2 separate regions of the Homo sapiens genome follow, and region 2 is linked to region 1. Evidence: promoter capture Hi-C in 16 types of primary human blood cells and fetal thymus (Javierre and others, 2016). All regions are on one chromosome and are shown on one strand. Each heading gives the region's core, a stretch centred on a gene start or on the middle of the fragment in contact. The rest is flanking DNA. Distances are from core to core; before and after follow the strand shown. Region 1 holds the start of FMOD (fibromodulin). Region 2 has its middle 22 kb from the start of ATP2B4.

Region 1 (6,904 bases), core at 4,299-6,798:
TGTCCCCATTTATGAATGAGGACACTGAGTCTCATTGATACTTAAGCAATTAGCCCAAAGTCACAGAGCTAATCAGTGGTAGGGCTGGAATTTGAGCATATAACTACGTTCCAAGCCCATGCTTTTTCCTCTACACTGGAGATTCTATATAGCATAGTGGTTAGAAACTCAAACTCTGGGAACAGCCAGACTTAAGTTTAGAATCCCAACTTGGCTATTTAATTACTATCCAATGTTGAACAAATTAATTAGCTTTTCTGAACTTCAATTTCCTCATCTGTAAAAATAAGGTATGATAATACCTATCTCAGGGTTGTGGTGAGAATCTCAGAAATGATAGCTGGTATTTCAGCTAACTTAGAGCTAAACTATTTTAGAGCTAATATCTAGGACTGGCATTTTAGAGCTAATATCTGGGTCTGTTCTCCCCTGCAGTCATGTAATTTCCTTAATAGCATCCTGGGAGCTGGTCTGTCTTATGTTGGTTTCTTCCAACAGCCCTCAGCACAGTCTGAGGGACACCATTAGTTCTTGGCTCATTTGCAGAACAAAGGTGAACATCATGTACAGAGTCACTGAATGGCCAAATCCTCTAGCCTTCAGGTTTTAATTTATCCCCTCTGCCTCCTTCCTTATTCAGGTATCTCTCCCTGAACGGCCCCCCTTTCCTGACTCAAATACACTCATACCTTCTAGAAAGTGGTCTTCTGGGATCCATCATGTCATCATCATGTTAACAATATCAAGCATGCAGTAAACACACAGTAAAAATAAGAGATGCTATCCATTAAAAGAGAAAGGTTGTTCTCTACCTTCTTTTTAAGCAGCTTATTGCTAAAAGGAAATTATAAGCCCTCAGGCATCTTCTAGAACTTGGAAGTTGAGGTCTTTCTCCTATTGCAGTTCAAAGAAAACAAGTCTTTCTCCAGCTCCAACATCTTCATGGCTCTCATCCTTCTGGAAAGAGGACACTCTCCATGATGAGGACTTCTAATGGCCCTTTGGTGCCAAGGGAATAGGAGAAAATATCTCTCTTGGAAGCTTTGGGACACCATTGTTGGGTGCCAATGTAGCCAAGAATTTCCATTGAAACATCAGACTAGGAAAAACTCCCTCGCTGGCGTCAAGAGTTTTCAGGATGGGCCAGCAGCGGGGTCTGGATTATATAATATCGCCATGGTCATCTTTCTGCTGACCTCTGTATATTCAATTCAAGAAATCTGGTTGGGTGGGTTTTCAGTCACACCCTCTTGCCCTCCACCTTCCCTGAGTTATCTGGGATCAGAGGCTGGATCATAAAAACAAGGGTTGTTGAGTCTTGTGGGGGATGAAGAGGAAGAAAAGGGTTGGTGGCCACAAGAACGTCACTGTGTCTTTGCTGGTGGGAACTTGAGTCAGAAGGGACTTCATTTCTCCCAGACAGGGTGGGTCCAGCATCAGAGGCAATGAGCTTTGCCTAGTGATTGTGGCTTAACCTGTACTTTTCTGGGTAGGGAGGAAATAGCAGTGGCCTGAACCCCTGGAAAGTCTAAAGGTTTTCCTGGCCTGGTTGGTGGTGGTTTTTCCACCCAGCATTGAGTACTGAAGACAGACATACTCTGTGGGGAGCCAAAAATACAATTCCTTTCATAACCCTTTACTGATTGCCTACTAAGTGCCAACGCATTGTGTGCCCAGCTGGGACAGGGGCTACAGAAATGCATGACATTGCCTTTCTCTTTAGTTTATTTTCAGTCTAGTGACTGCATAGTGCTGGCTAGACACCCCCTAGAAGATACTGGTGTCCTCCTTCACATGTGGACTCCCTCAGCAAGCAATCTGGTGGACATCAATATCTCATTCTTGGCTTCCCATGTTGAAGGCAAGCTCTGAGGGCCTAGATCCAGGAACCAGGCAAACAAAGCAGCAGTGGCCAAAATGGAGGTAGAAACCTCCACTAAAGGTTAGAGAAAAGAACTTTTGAACAGTGGGTGGTTCCCTGAAACTCTGCCTTCTGACCTGGTCCCAATCATCCCTTCCATCCTTCCTTCATCCCAGGCCTGCCTTGGAACAGGATGGATAGCTAAAGACCTGGTGCACATCTCACCACTTTAGAAATGGCCAAAAAACCCCATGGAGATACTGTCTTTTTGGTGGTGCCCGGTTGGGAAGAATCCAGTCACTATTTGGTTCCCAGACTTTAGTAACTTTCATTGTTAGTAAATGCAGAATTAGTCAGCATGCTGGAATTTAAAAAAATAAACATCTGTACCCAATGGTGAATCTGTCCAGGCTATCTAGGCTCATTTAAAAGTGTTTCCCAGGCTCGGTTGCCAAGATCAGTGTCCTCCACTGAAAGGTGACTGCTTTCTGGACTCAAAAATGACTAGAAAGTTATCTGTGCATTATTCATAAGCATTTTCACAGTAAGGCCATTCTGCTTCACTCATGAGGTCAGAGTTTGCTACATTCAGATCTGCTTTATTATAATCAGGCATTATACCGAAGCCTTCTTTGTGTCTCCAACACTTAGGATCATGCCCAACACATAGTAGATGCTCAAATTTATTAAACGGAAATGAAATATGGGTGGGATGAGGAAGAGAACCCCTATACCCCAGCCCCATCTCACTTTAAAACCCCCCTGCCCCCAGATTCAGGCAGATTGGTCAATCGTAATTAATTAAGCTTCATCTTAGTCGAGGCCAGCCTGACAGCAGGGTAGTCATTGCCCCTCCACTTTGCCAATCCTCTGTGCTAGAGTTAGAGAAAAGTGTGTGGGCTTTCAAGTCATGTAGACCAAGGTTCAGATCCTTGTTTTGCCACTTACCAGCTAGTCACTTTATATCACTAAAACCCTAATTCCTTGGCTGAAAGCAGGGTCAAAAATAAAAAAAAAAAAATCCTGACAGAATGAGGTGACATAACAGAGGCAGGTCGGAGCCACTGCTGTCACCATGACCCGCAGTAACCAGCATGAGCTTACTGGCTAGAAAAATAGGAAAAAGCAGAGTGACTCAGTTAAGGGAAAACGTCGAGATGACGGGCTTTCTGCTGCTGCGGCAAGCAGAGGAGCTCAGAGACCAAGCAGCAGGAGCAGAAGAAGGCAAAAGAGAAGAAGGAGGAACCCGAGTAGCTTTGTGGCTTCATGTCCAACCCTCCTGCCCTTCGCCTATGTGACTGGAGCCAGTCCCACCACCCTCACGTTTCCTCCTGCAGTGCCCGCAGGTCCCCGCACCCATGGCCTCCTTTTGCCCTGAGTCTGCAGCGGGTCCCTTTTGTGCTTCCTTCCCCTCACGTAGCCTCTCTCCCCCTGGCCCCTCCTGGAAGTGGCGGGTGGGAGGTTACCCCTTCCCAGTGTTTTTTTATTCCTGTGGGGCTCACCCCAAAGTATTAAAAGTAGCTTTGAAAAAAAAACACTAATTCCAATGCAAAATATCTACTGTTATCTTTGATAACATAAGTAAACCACCTAGTCTATAGTAGGTGGTCAGAAAAGGCTCATTCATTAGGTTTCATCTTTTTGAAATCTCTTCTTAAATTCTGAGAATGGGTCCCTGACAAGGCCCTTTCTGACAGCCCACACGCTAAGTCAAAAGCTCAAACCTATTGGAGAAACCAAAAGGACCATCTGCCTCGACACTTCTAAATTCTTCAAATTCAAGTCATCTCAGGGTTTCTCAGTTGGTATTTTTTTAAGATAAAGGTGTTTCTTTGATGTTGGCATAAGCCAGTTAACATACTTGAGGAGAGAACATTTAGGACACATGAGTTTATCTAAGCTATTGAGATTCTGTGTGACCCACATTATAATGGTTCTCAAATGTTTTCTTCCAGCCCCTAAACTCCAGATTCAGATTCATATGTCCAACGGTCTACGTGCATCTCCAGGGGAATGCCTAGCAGGCATCTCTAACAGCATATCCAAAATGTAACTTTGGTTTTCTACCCAACTCAGTCCCACGTCACCTTTCCCATGTCAAGAAATGTTACCACCACCTACCCAGTTGCTCAAACTAAAATTCTAGGAATCATCCTTGACTTTTCCTAACTCTGCAAGACTTGTCAGTTCTCTGTCTAAAATATAAGATCTTCTCTTCCATTGCACCAGTCCAATCTGCCATTACCTCTCCTTGAGGCTGGGTTGGAGCCTCCCTGCTTCCACCCTGGCCTCCCCTTCTCCATACAGCAGCCCCTCCTACATGCTTTTAAAATGTAAATTAGATCCCATGCAAATCAGATCCCATGGCTTCTCCTGCTTGAAACATGTTTTTTTTTTTAAACATTTAGAATAGGCCGGACCGGATGACGCACGCCTGTAATCCCAGCACTTTGGGGCACTGAGGTGGGTGGATCACCTGTGTTTAGGAGTTCAAGACCAGCCTGACCAATATGATGAAACCCTGTCTCTACTAAAAATACAAAAAATTAGCTGGGCGTGGTGGCGTGTGCCTGTAGTCCCAGCTACCCAGGAGGCTGAGGCAGGAGAACGGCTTGAACCTGGGAGGCGGAGGTTGCAGAAAGCAGAGATTGTGCCACTGCACTCCAGCCTGGGCGACACAGCGAGACTCCTTTTCGATCTCCTGACCTCATGATCCTCCTGCCTCGGCCTCCCAAAGTGCTGGGATTACAGGCATGAGCCACCACGCCCAGCTGAGACTCCTTCTCAAACAAACAAACAACAACAACAACAACAAAAACATTTAGAATAAAAACCAAATCACTTCCATCGCCCAAAAGTCCTTTCATGGTACAGCTCCTGCCCAGCTTTCTGATCTTGTCTTTCCCTGGCTGAGGAATTCTATGGCTGTGAAATGGGTAGGACACAGTGAACCTCAGCTATGTGCCAGGTCAGGAGCCTCCCACACATCACCTGATACAGTCCTTGCTACAACCCAGCAAGGTAAGTGTTATTAACTCTGAATTTGTTGTGAGCATTAAGTGGAAGTGGATGATGCTAGTGCATAAGCAGTGATCAGCAAATGCTGGAGTCCCTGCCTTTCCTTTTGTTCCAGTGGTGGAGGTGGGCAGGACCTGTAGCCTAGAAAAGTCTACACTGCTTAGGGATAGAACTGGAACCAGAGCCGGCTGTCCCTTGTCATTCATGCTCCCTTATCCACTAGCCTGATGACCTGTCTATAGGGGGAGCTGAGAAGCGCGAGTTCTCGCTCTCTGGAGGGACATGTGGGTTGCTGAAGGAGTTAAGATGTCTCTTACCAAACCCTGGCCCTCCCCATCCCTGCATCTGCCTTTGTGGCTTTAATGAGAAATCCAGGCGCTTCATAAGAGACTGTACAAATAACTTCTAGGGCGCCACTAACTCATTCAGCAGAAAGGGACCCAGGGCTGCCAATGTTTCAGGGAAGATAAGTGAGTGGAAAAAAGGTGGTTTTTATAGCGTCAGGCGGACCGAAGGATTTGCGTGGTTGAGCGTGAACTCCGCCCCTGCAGCAGAGCTGAAAAAAACCAGGATCCGGGTTCCTCAGCCCCTTTTCACAATATTTGATTAGGAATTTGGGGCGGGACCCTGGTCTGGCACAGGCACGCACACTCTCAGTAGACTCTTTCACTCCTCTCTCTCTTCCTCTCTCACACGTTCTCCAACCCAAGGAGGCCAGACAGAGGGACGTGGTCACTCTCTGAAAAGTTCAACTTGAGGTAAGTATAGTCGTTTTACTTCGGGTTTGTCCCTAGCAGTTCCTTAAAAGAAATAAAGGAAAAGTGGTAGGGGATAGGGGAGATGGGGAGGCAGGGAGGGTTCATTCCTCCTTCTCCACATCTGGGCCATGACCCCAGGGATGCTGGAGAGTGGCAGAGAGGGTGTATAAGGGAGGGGTTCCAGCCCTGTACCTTTCTCTTACAGTTCCTTTATGGGTGCTGAGGGGACCTCCAATTCTCAGGCATGAAAAAGTGAAGGACCCTCTGTCTAGGGAAGCTTCTTCCCTGCTACTCATAAATCCCATCATGCTGGGAGTGTGGGCATTTTGAAGGGTATTCCAAGACCTGGATGTCCCTGCAATCTCTCTTATAGAGGGGTTTGGTACATAAATGCTATTATGGGAGAGGGGGAAACTTTTGTGTAGAATGTGTGTGTGTGTGTGTGTGTGTGTGTGTTTGGAGTGGAAAGGAGAGAATAAAAAGAAGCATTGAGAACTGGCCATGTCCAGGGAGCTGTGGATTGGGGTGGGGATGCAATCCAGGTGAGGGGATGGCCTCTGGCTTGACCTTCTCCACTGATAGGAGGGAGAGATCTTTCTCTAGAGTGGAGAAATGAAAGAACAGCAGTAGCTCCTGAGTAAACTTCCCCCAGCTGATAGTGTGGCAGTCCTGGAAACTTTCGACCTTACAGAAACTCTGAGCACAGGAGGGCCTCTAGCATTATGGGAAACAGTGTAAGACTATGCAACCCTGAAGCAACATTGCTAAGAGATGGGATGGGGTAAGGAGAGGCATAAGCTCCCCATCAAACCCTTTCAGCACCCATGGCTCTAAGAAGAGGCTGAAGTGGGCAGGGTGCACAGCCCCTAGAAAGCTGAGTCTGAAGGGGAAGGTGGCTCTTGTCTGCCAAGGTGCCCAGTCTGAAAGAAGGAGAAACGGAGACAGAGGCTCACTGTGCCAGCCCTCCAGACAGCCACCTTGGTCCTGCAACAGCCCAGGGCTGTGCATGGAAAAATGCTCTGTTGGCAGTGGGCCGCTCCATTCGTCTTCTCTCCTGGCCAGAGCCAGGAACCAGCCAGCTTGCCCAGGCAGTGGGCAGTTGGGTCAGCTTCTCCAAAACACTGTGGCTCTTTGTCTGAGGCCTGAGGCTGCCTGTGGATGAGCCAGGGTGCCTGCTCCTCTGCAACCTAGGAACTGATGGGATGAAGTGGGCCCAAGGAAACTGTTTTGAGGGGACAGAGAGGTCTGGGATGGATGGTGGTCAGGA
Region 2 (7,196 bases), core at 3,947-6,446, 250 kb before region 1:
GAGATTGAGAGCATCCTGGCTAACACAGTGAAACCCCGTCTCTACTAAAAATACAAAAAAATTAGCTGGGCGTGGTGGCGGGCGCCTGTAGTCCCAGCTACTCAGGAGGCTGAGGCAGGAGAATGGCGTGAACCCGGGAAGTGGAGCTTGCAGTGAGCCGAGATTGTGCCTCTGCACTCCAGCCTGGGTGACAGAGCGAGACTCTGTCTCAAAAAGCAAAAGAAAACAAAACAAAAAAAACAACCCCATGAAATAAGCACTATTATTACTACCTCCCCCATCCCCTGCTGTTTTTTTTTTTGTTGTTGTTTTTAGATGGAGTCTCCCTCTGTCACCCAGGCTGGAATGCAGTGGGGCAATCTTGGCTCACTGCAACCTCTGCCTCCCAAGTTCAAGTGATTCTCCTGCCTCAGCTGCCCTAGTAGCTGGGACTACAGACACATGACACCACGCCCATCTAATTTTTGTAGTTTTAGTAGAGATGGGGTTTCACCACGTAGGCTGGTCTCGAACTCCTGACCTCACGTGATCCACCTGCCTTGGCCTCCCAAAGTGCTGGGATTACAGATGTGAGCCACTGTGCCTGGCTCTTTCCCATTTTTAAAGATAAGGTAGCTGAGGGCTGGGCATGGTGTCTCACACCTGTAATCTCAGCACTTTGGGAGACCCAGATGGGTGGATCACTTGAGGTCAGGAGTTCGAGACTAGCCTGGCCGAAATGGTAAAATCCATCTCTACTGAAAATACAAAAATTAGCCGGTGTGCTGGCATGCACCTGTAATCTCAGCTAATCGGGAGGCTGAGGCAGGAGAATCAATTGAACCCAGGAGATAGAGGTTGCAGTGAGCCAAGATTGCACCATTGCTCTCCCGCCTGGGCAACAGAGAAGACTCCATCTCATTTCTTTTGAAATAAAAATAAATAAAAACTAAAGATAAAGGAAGCTGAGACCCAGAGAGCTGAAGGCCTCAGAGATGTGTCAGGATTTGAATCTGTGTGCTGTCAAAATACTTGCTTTTCTCATCATGCCATGCTGCCCACCCCAACCCACCCCAGCCCCTCTTTCCTGTGGGTCTTGGTGACTCATCCTCTTTCTTGGCAGACATTGTGGTTTTCAGACATTGTGGTTTTTGATAACTCAGTAAATGAAGTCATCCTGTTGTTGTTGCTGTCTCTGCTTCTTGGGCCACGCTCCCGCCCCGGTGTCCTTGTGCTGCCTCAAGGCTCCTGGTTGCTGGAGCAGGAACTCTGTAGCTACTGTTGCTTTTTTTGTTTGTTTGTTTTATAGTGTCTTTGAAAGAACATGATTTCCCCAGGGGGTGAGCCAAGGCCATTTAAGTGATATGCTCAATGCTATCTAACAATGTCTTTCTTGTTTTTTTTTTGAGATGGAGTTTCACTCTTGTTGCCCAGGCTGGAGTGCAATGGTGCGATCTCAGCTCACTGCAACCTTCACCTCCCAGGTTCAAATGATTCTCCTGCCTCAGCCTCCCGAGTAGCTGGGATTACAGGTGCCTGGCACCATGCCTAGCTAAGTTATCTAACAAGGTCTTTCTTTTTTTTGAGATGGAGTTTCACTCTGTCACCAGGCTGGAGTGCAGTGGCGCGATCTCGGCTCACTGCAACCTCCGACTCCCTGGTTCAAGCGATTCTCCTGCCTCAGCCTCCCGAGTAGCTGGGATTATAGGCACATGCCACCACACCAGGCTAATTTTTGTATTTTTAGTAGAGACGGGGTTTCTCCATATTGGTCAGGCTGGTCTTGATCTCCTGACCTTGTGATCCGCCCACCTCGACCTCCCAAAGTGCTGGGATTACAGGCACGAGCCACCGCGCCCGGCCCACAATGTCTTTCTTATAGATCAAGAACCAGTGTTCTTATCTCAGGGTGTGTTTTCTGCCTTCCCAGGCCTCGCCACACTCACAGTACAGGGGGCAGCCTTCATCTTCCCTTTTTGCTTGAAGCCTCAAGCCTGATGTTTCAGCAGCCTGATGCTCAATCCCAAAGGCCTTTACCTTTTTCTCAGTGCCCTCCTGGCCCTTGTAAATGTGATGTATTGGTTGTCAGCATCAGGGTTCCAGAATTCCCAGGGTAGATGTACAATTAGGCTCACACCGTGCCCCTTGCTTGTGGAGACCATGGAGGGAAGTAATACCAAAGAAAAGAGGAGAGGAAAAGGGAAAGAGCTAACGTATACTGAGTAATTTCTACAAGCTAGGCACCGTGCCTTACATAAACAGTCCTGAGTCACTTAACAAACAGAGCTACAGTCTGAGAAATGCATTGTTAGGTGATTTCATTGTTTTGCAAACATCATAGGTATACCCACACAAACCTAGATGGTGTAGCCTACTACACACCTAAGCTGGATGGTATAGCCTATTGCTCCTAGGCTATAAACCTGTACAGCATGTTATTGTACTATAGGCAATTATAACACACTGGTGTCTAAACATATCTAAACATAGACAAGGTACCATGAAAATATGGTATTATAATTTATTTATTTATTTATTTATTTATTTATTTATTTTTTGAGATGAAGTCTCACTGTTGTCACCCAGGCTGGAGTGCAGTGGCGTGATCTAGGCTCATTGCAACCTTCACCTTCCAGGTTGAAGAAATTCTCCTGCCTCAGCCTCCCGAGTAGCTGGGATTACAGGTGTCTGCCACCACGCCCAACTAATTTTTGTATTTTTAGTAGAGATGGGGTTTCGCCATGTTGGCCAGGCTGGTCTCGAACTCCTGACTGATATTATAGTTTTTATGGGACCACAATCGTATATGCAGTGTGTTGGTGACCAAAATGTCATTATGTGGCATATAACTGTATCTTAAGGTTTAATCACAGTAACATGATAGCAGTACTATTGGCCTCATTTTGCAGTTGAGAAACTGGTTGCTCAGAGAGGTTGGAGTAACCTGCCCATCAGTGGCAGGGCCAGGATTGGCACCAGGTCAGCTTGATTTCAAAATGTTGTTTTGTCTTCTAGACAACAAAGCATCATTGAAGGTGTCCAAGAGGAAACTGAGAGGCCAAAGCAGCATTTTGGGAAGATTAATATGACAGCAGTGGGTGGAAGGAATGGGAGAGAAGCAATGCCGAAGCTGTGGGGATCCACTAGTAGGTTACACAACAACGTCAGCTTGAGAATCCTCCAGGAGGACAGCAGAAGCAGAAAGGAGGTGCAGCTGTGAGAGACAATGAGAAGCAGAGATTAGCAGTCCTTGGCAGCTGAGTAGTCTCAGACTTGACAAGGAAATCCTCCTTTTTCTGATTATTTAGGGTCCTGCCATATGTTGGTGGCCTATACCAGGGATAAGGCCTGTCACTTCTACTTGAGTTATGCAGGAGCAGAGAAGGCAGGGAAACACGTGTGGTGAGAGGGTGCCTTGCTCAGCTCCTCGACAGGGCTAGGGTAGGTAGTCTGCCATCCCTGGTCAAGGCCTAGGCCTTTGGAAGTTCTAGTTACCCAGCCCAGGATATAGCATCTTGTGTGTTCAATAAATGGTAATTGGTGGTGGTGAGCTCAGAAGCATCTCTAAAATAGAGAGTGAGCCATCACTGTTTACAAGCAACTCCTCTCCCCAGCTGGTGGAAGCACATGGATCTAATGACTCCTTTCCTGGTGAGGAAACCGAGGCTCAGAGGTTTCATGGCTTTCCCACGGTCTCCTGGAGAGCCAGAGGGCAGAGTTAGGGTTCAAATGCATCATTCTCAGCTCTGACCTAGAGTCCTGTTGCCTTCCCCAGCTTGTCTCTCTTTGGTGTCAGAGAAACAGGGGGAATTAATGATAAACCTTCACATGAGTAAGGCCATTTACAGTTTACAAAACTGCTTCCCATCCATTATCTCATTTGATCCTCACAACAACTGGGTATTATTATACTCATTTTGCAGATGGAGAAACTGGCTATGGTCATTCAACTGTGACTGAAAGAGCTAGAATTCAAAATGAAGTTTTCTGACTCCAGGTCTAAGCTCTTTCCTGGAGGCCATGAGAATAAGGGAGCAAATGAAAAATAGAACAGCAAAGGGGAGAAGAAGTGTTCAGGTGAGAGCAGCAAATGCAGCATAGATGGTGCTGGAGGGCTTCAAGTTAAACACAATAAAAGCTTCTGGGCAGGAAAGATTGTTCATCACAGGTACCAGCAGCTGGGGGAAGCTGGTTTATCTGGGGAATTAGCTTGGTTTTTAGTAGAGGCTGATTGGTTGAAGAGATAATCTCTAGAAAAAATATTTCCTGCTTTCTTACCCTTGGATATTTGCCGCCTTCTTACCCTTGGATCTTGTGAAGAAAAAGAAGCAGGAGAGAGAGGAAAACACTAATGTTAGCATTTGCCTTATAGATGCCCAATAAACTATATTGAGTGGATGGTTGAATGGATGGCTGGGTGGGTGGATGAATGGATGGCTGGGTGGATGGATGAATGGATGGTTGGGTGGATGAATGGATGGATGGGTGGATGAATGGATGGATGGGTGGATGGGTGGATGGATGGATGGATGGGTGGGTGGGTGGATGGATGGATGGATGGATGGATGGGTGGATGGATGGATGGGTGGGTGGGTGGATGGATGGGTGGGTGGGTGGGTGGATGGATGGGTGGGTGGGTGGGTAGATATTCAAGTGGGTGTGTGGATGGGCCATGGATGGATGGGAGAGATTTAGGGAAATTGCACATCTCCTTGGGCAACCTCATGGTCCTATTTACAACTCTTGAAGTTACTCTACCTCTGTTTCTCCCACCCTTTAACCCATCTACATTATCTGATGCTATAAATGATGTTCTTATCCCAGGAGGAAGAATTAGTGTAGCATTCAGAGAGAAGCCAGGAAGTAACTTCCTTTGTCCCAGGAAGGTGAATGGGATGGAGTATCTCTGTCCTCCAGTTCACTTGAAGTCTCTGAAGCCCTGCTCTAACCTAATAGTCAGGATTTCTGGATCCTGGGGGACCCTCCAGCTGCTCCTGTTGGAGGGGAACAGCCATCTTGTCATGGGGTGGTAGATATGGCATTTGTGGTTGGGCTCTAGAAAGACTAAGGACCCAAGGGATCGAGAACTATGCTCGCCCGAGGTCTCTTTACTCTGCAACTTCTTTGCCCGCCTTTCAGGGAAACATTGCAATGTGGCTTTCCCAAGCTAGTATGGGGTGGGGGTTGGGTAAGGCCAAAGGGTTAGAGATGATCCATACAGGGTGCACCTTTGTCCTCTACCTATGGTCAGTCCCTACTTGTCACCAGTAGAACCAGTAACTCTGGCCCTAAGGCTGCATGGCAGTCTTATACTGGAGAATTCATGGGACAGGTGTCCCGGTCCTGGGTTCTGATTCTAGCTCTGTCACTGAGTATGTCCAGTGTATAACACAGCATCTGCATGTAGTAGATGCTCACTATATATCCAATGAGAAGGCAAGGCGCAGTGACTGGCTCACGCCTGTAATCCCAGCACTTTGGGAGGCCGAGGATGACGGATCACCTGAGGTCAGGAGTTTGAGACCAGCCTGGCCAACATGGTGAAACCCCATCTCTACTAAAAATACAAAAATTAGCCAGGCATGGTGGTGGGCGCCTGTAATTCCAGCTACTTGGGAGGCTGAGGCAGGAGAATCACTTGAACCTGGGAGGCAGAGGTTGCAGTAAGCCAAGATCACACCACTGCACTCCAGCCTGGAGTCTCTCTCTCTATATGTAGACTATATATATATATATATCTTCAATGAGAGAGTGAACAAATGAATGAAATAATTAGCTGTGACCTTGGGCAGATTACTTTCCTCTTCTGGACCTTGGTCTCCATACCTGTAAAATGGGGATAATAATGCTGGCTCTGTCTCCCACTTACAGCCATCCTCAGCCTTTGGGAGTAAATGAACAGATAGATGTGAATGGTGTTTATGTATCATCCCACTCAAGGGACTACATGGTGGTTGGCATTTGCTGCCCCATGCCCCTGCACCTGCACATGCTAGCCAGGTCTGCTGCTCATCTCACGCATGCCACAGCCCACACCTCTCCAGATCCCTGCTATCCTGTCCCATGGAACTTGGTTGTCCCACATCCCCCACTTTCAGGGATCTGGCTCTGTTAACATGAAAGTGATACTATTTACCCTTTATTAACACCTATCTGTTGAGCATTTAGGTCATTATGTCCTCATAACGGTCCTCTGAGGGACTCACTGTAGTGAAGTGACCTGCCCAAGGCCACATAACACTTAAGTAGTAGAGCCAGGATTCCAGCCAGGTCTCTGAACCTGCTGCTGAAGCTTCTGGCCTTGTAGCTGTAAATTCTTGGTCTACCCAGGGCGGCAGTTTCATTCAGTGTGGTGAAGAAAGTACAACAGTCGGAGGTGCAAGACCTGCATTCAAGCTTAGGCTTGACTGCTACTAAGCTGGGTGTTGGCCGGGTGGGGTGGCTCATACCTGCAGTCCAAGCACTACAGGCCGAGGCTGGTGGATTGCTTGAGCCCAGGAGTTCATGAGACCAGCCTGGGCAACATGCCAAAACCCCATCTCCACAAAAAGTACAAAAATTAGCCAGGCATGGTGGCACATGCCTGTAGTCCCAGCTACTTGGGAGGTTGAGGTGGGAGGATCGCTTGAGCCCAGAAGGTCTAGGCTGAAGTGAGCAGAGATTGCGTCACTACACTCCAGCTTGGGCAACAGAGCTAGATCCTGTCTCAAAAAATAAAAATAAAAATGAACTGAGTGTCCTCAGCAAGTTTCATCAAAGTGCTAAATTGTGAGGATCAAAAGCAATGGTGTGTTCAAACCACTTAGTAATGTGTCCATCAAATATTGGAAATGATTTTTATAGGAGGTCTTCTAGAGGCATTGGTTTAACAGAAAGAAATGGCTATAACAGTGGGGATTACAGAGACCATAGCAGGCTGGTGAATACTTTGGGGAAAGAAGTCTTTCAAAGTTGCTTAGGTCATATGATGAATCCTGAGGGCAAACATTTGCTCCCGCTCTGGCTAGGAAGGCTCTGCCCTCAGGCTCTGGGAGTTCCTAACCAATAGCAGAGTCCTAACTCGCTGTGCCCCACAAATTGCTAGTTACCTAGGTCCCAGATTCACCTAAGATTTAACCCATAGTTCCTTTTTCTTTGGAAGAGCTTGCCCATGTCAGGGGAGAACTCTCCAATGTACCTGGAGGTCCCCTTTCTGCTTATGCTCAGCCCAGGGCCGG

Evidence for each region. Contacts are between HindIII fragments. The CHiCAGO score rates a contact against its expected background, and 5 or more counts as called.
Region 2: a fragment that was not itself captured here is called in contact with the fragment with the promoter of FMOD in region 1 in 1 of 17 cell types (M1 macrophages); the score reaches 5.3 in M1 macrophages.

The regions. Positions count from the first base shown.
Region 1 is chr1:203,349,766-203,356,669 of GRCh38, reverse strand. It overlaps FMOD (fibromodulin), which reads left to right and starts at 5,548. Exons shown (of 3, transcript NM_002023.5): 1 at 5,548-5,637. It also overlaps the pseudogene LOC100131747. The HindIII fragment of the contact is 3,247 bases long and covers 2,670-5,916 here.
Region 2 is chr1:203,601,359-203,608,554 of GRCh38, reverse strand. No RefSeq gene overlaps it. Among named protein-coding and RNA genes, the nearest start is that of ATP2B4, 22 kb to the left of the region's middle. The HindIII fragment of the contact is 2,154 bases long and covers 4,120-6,273 here.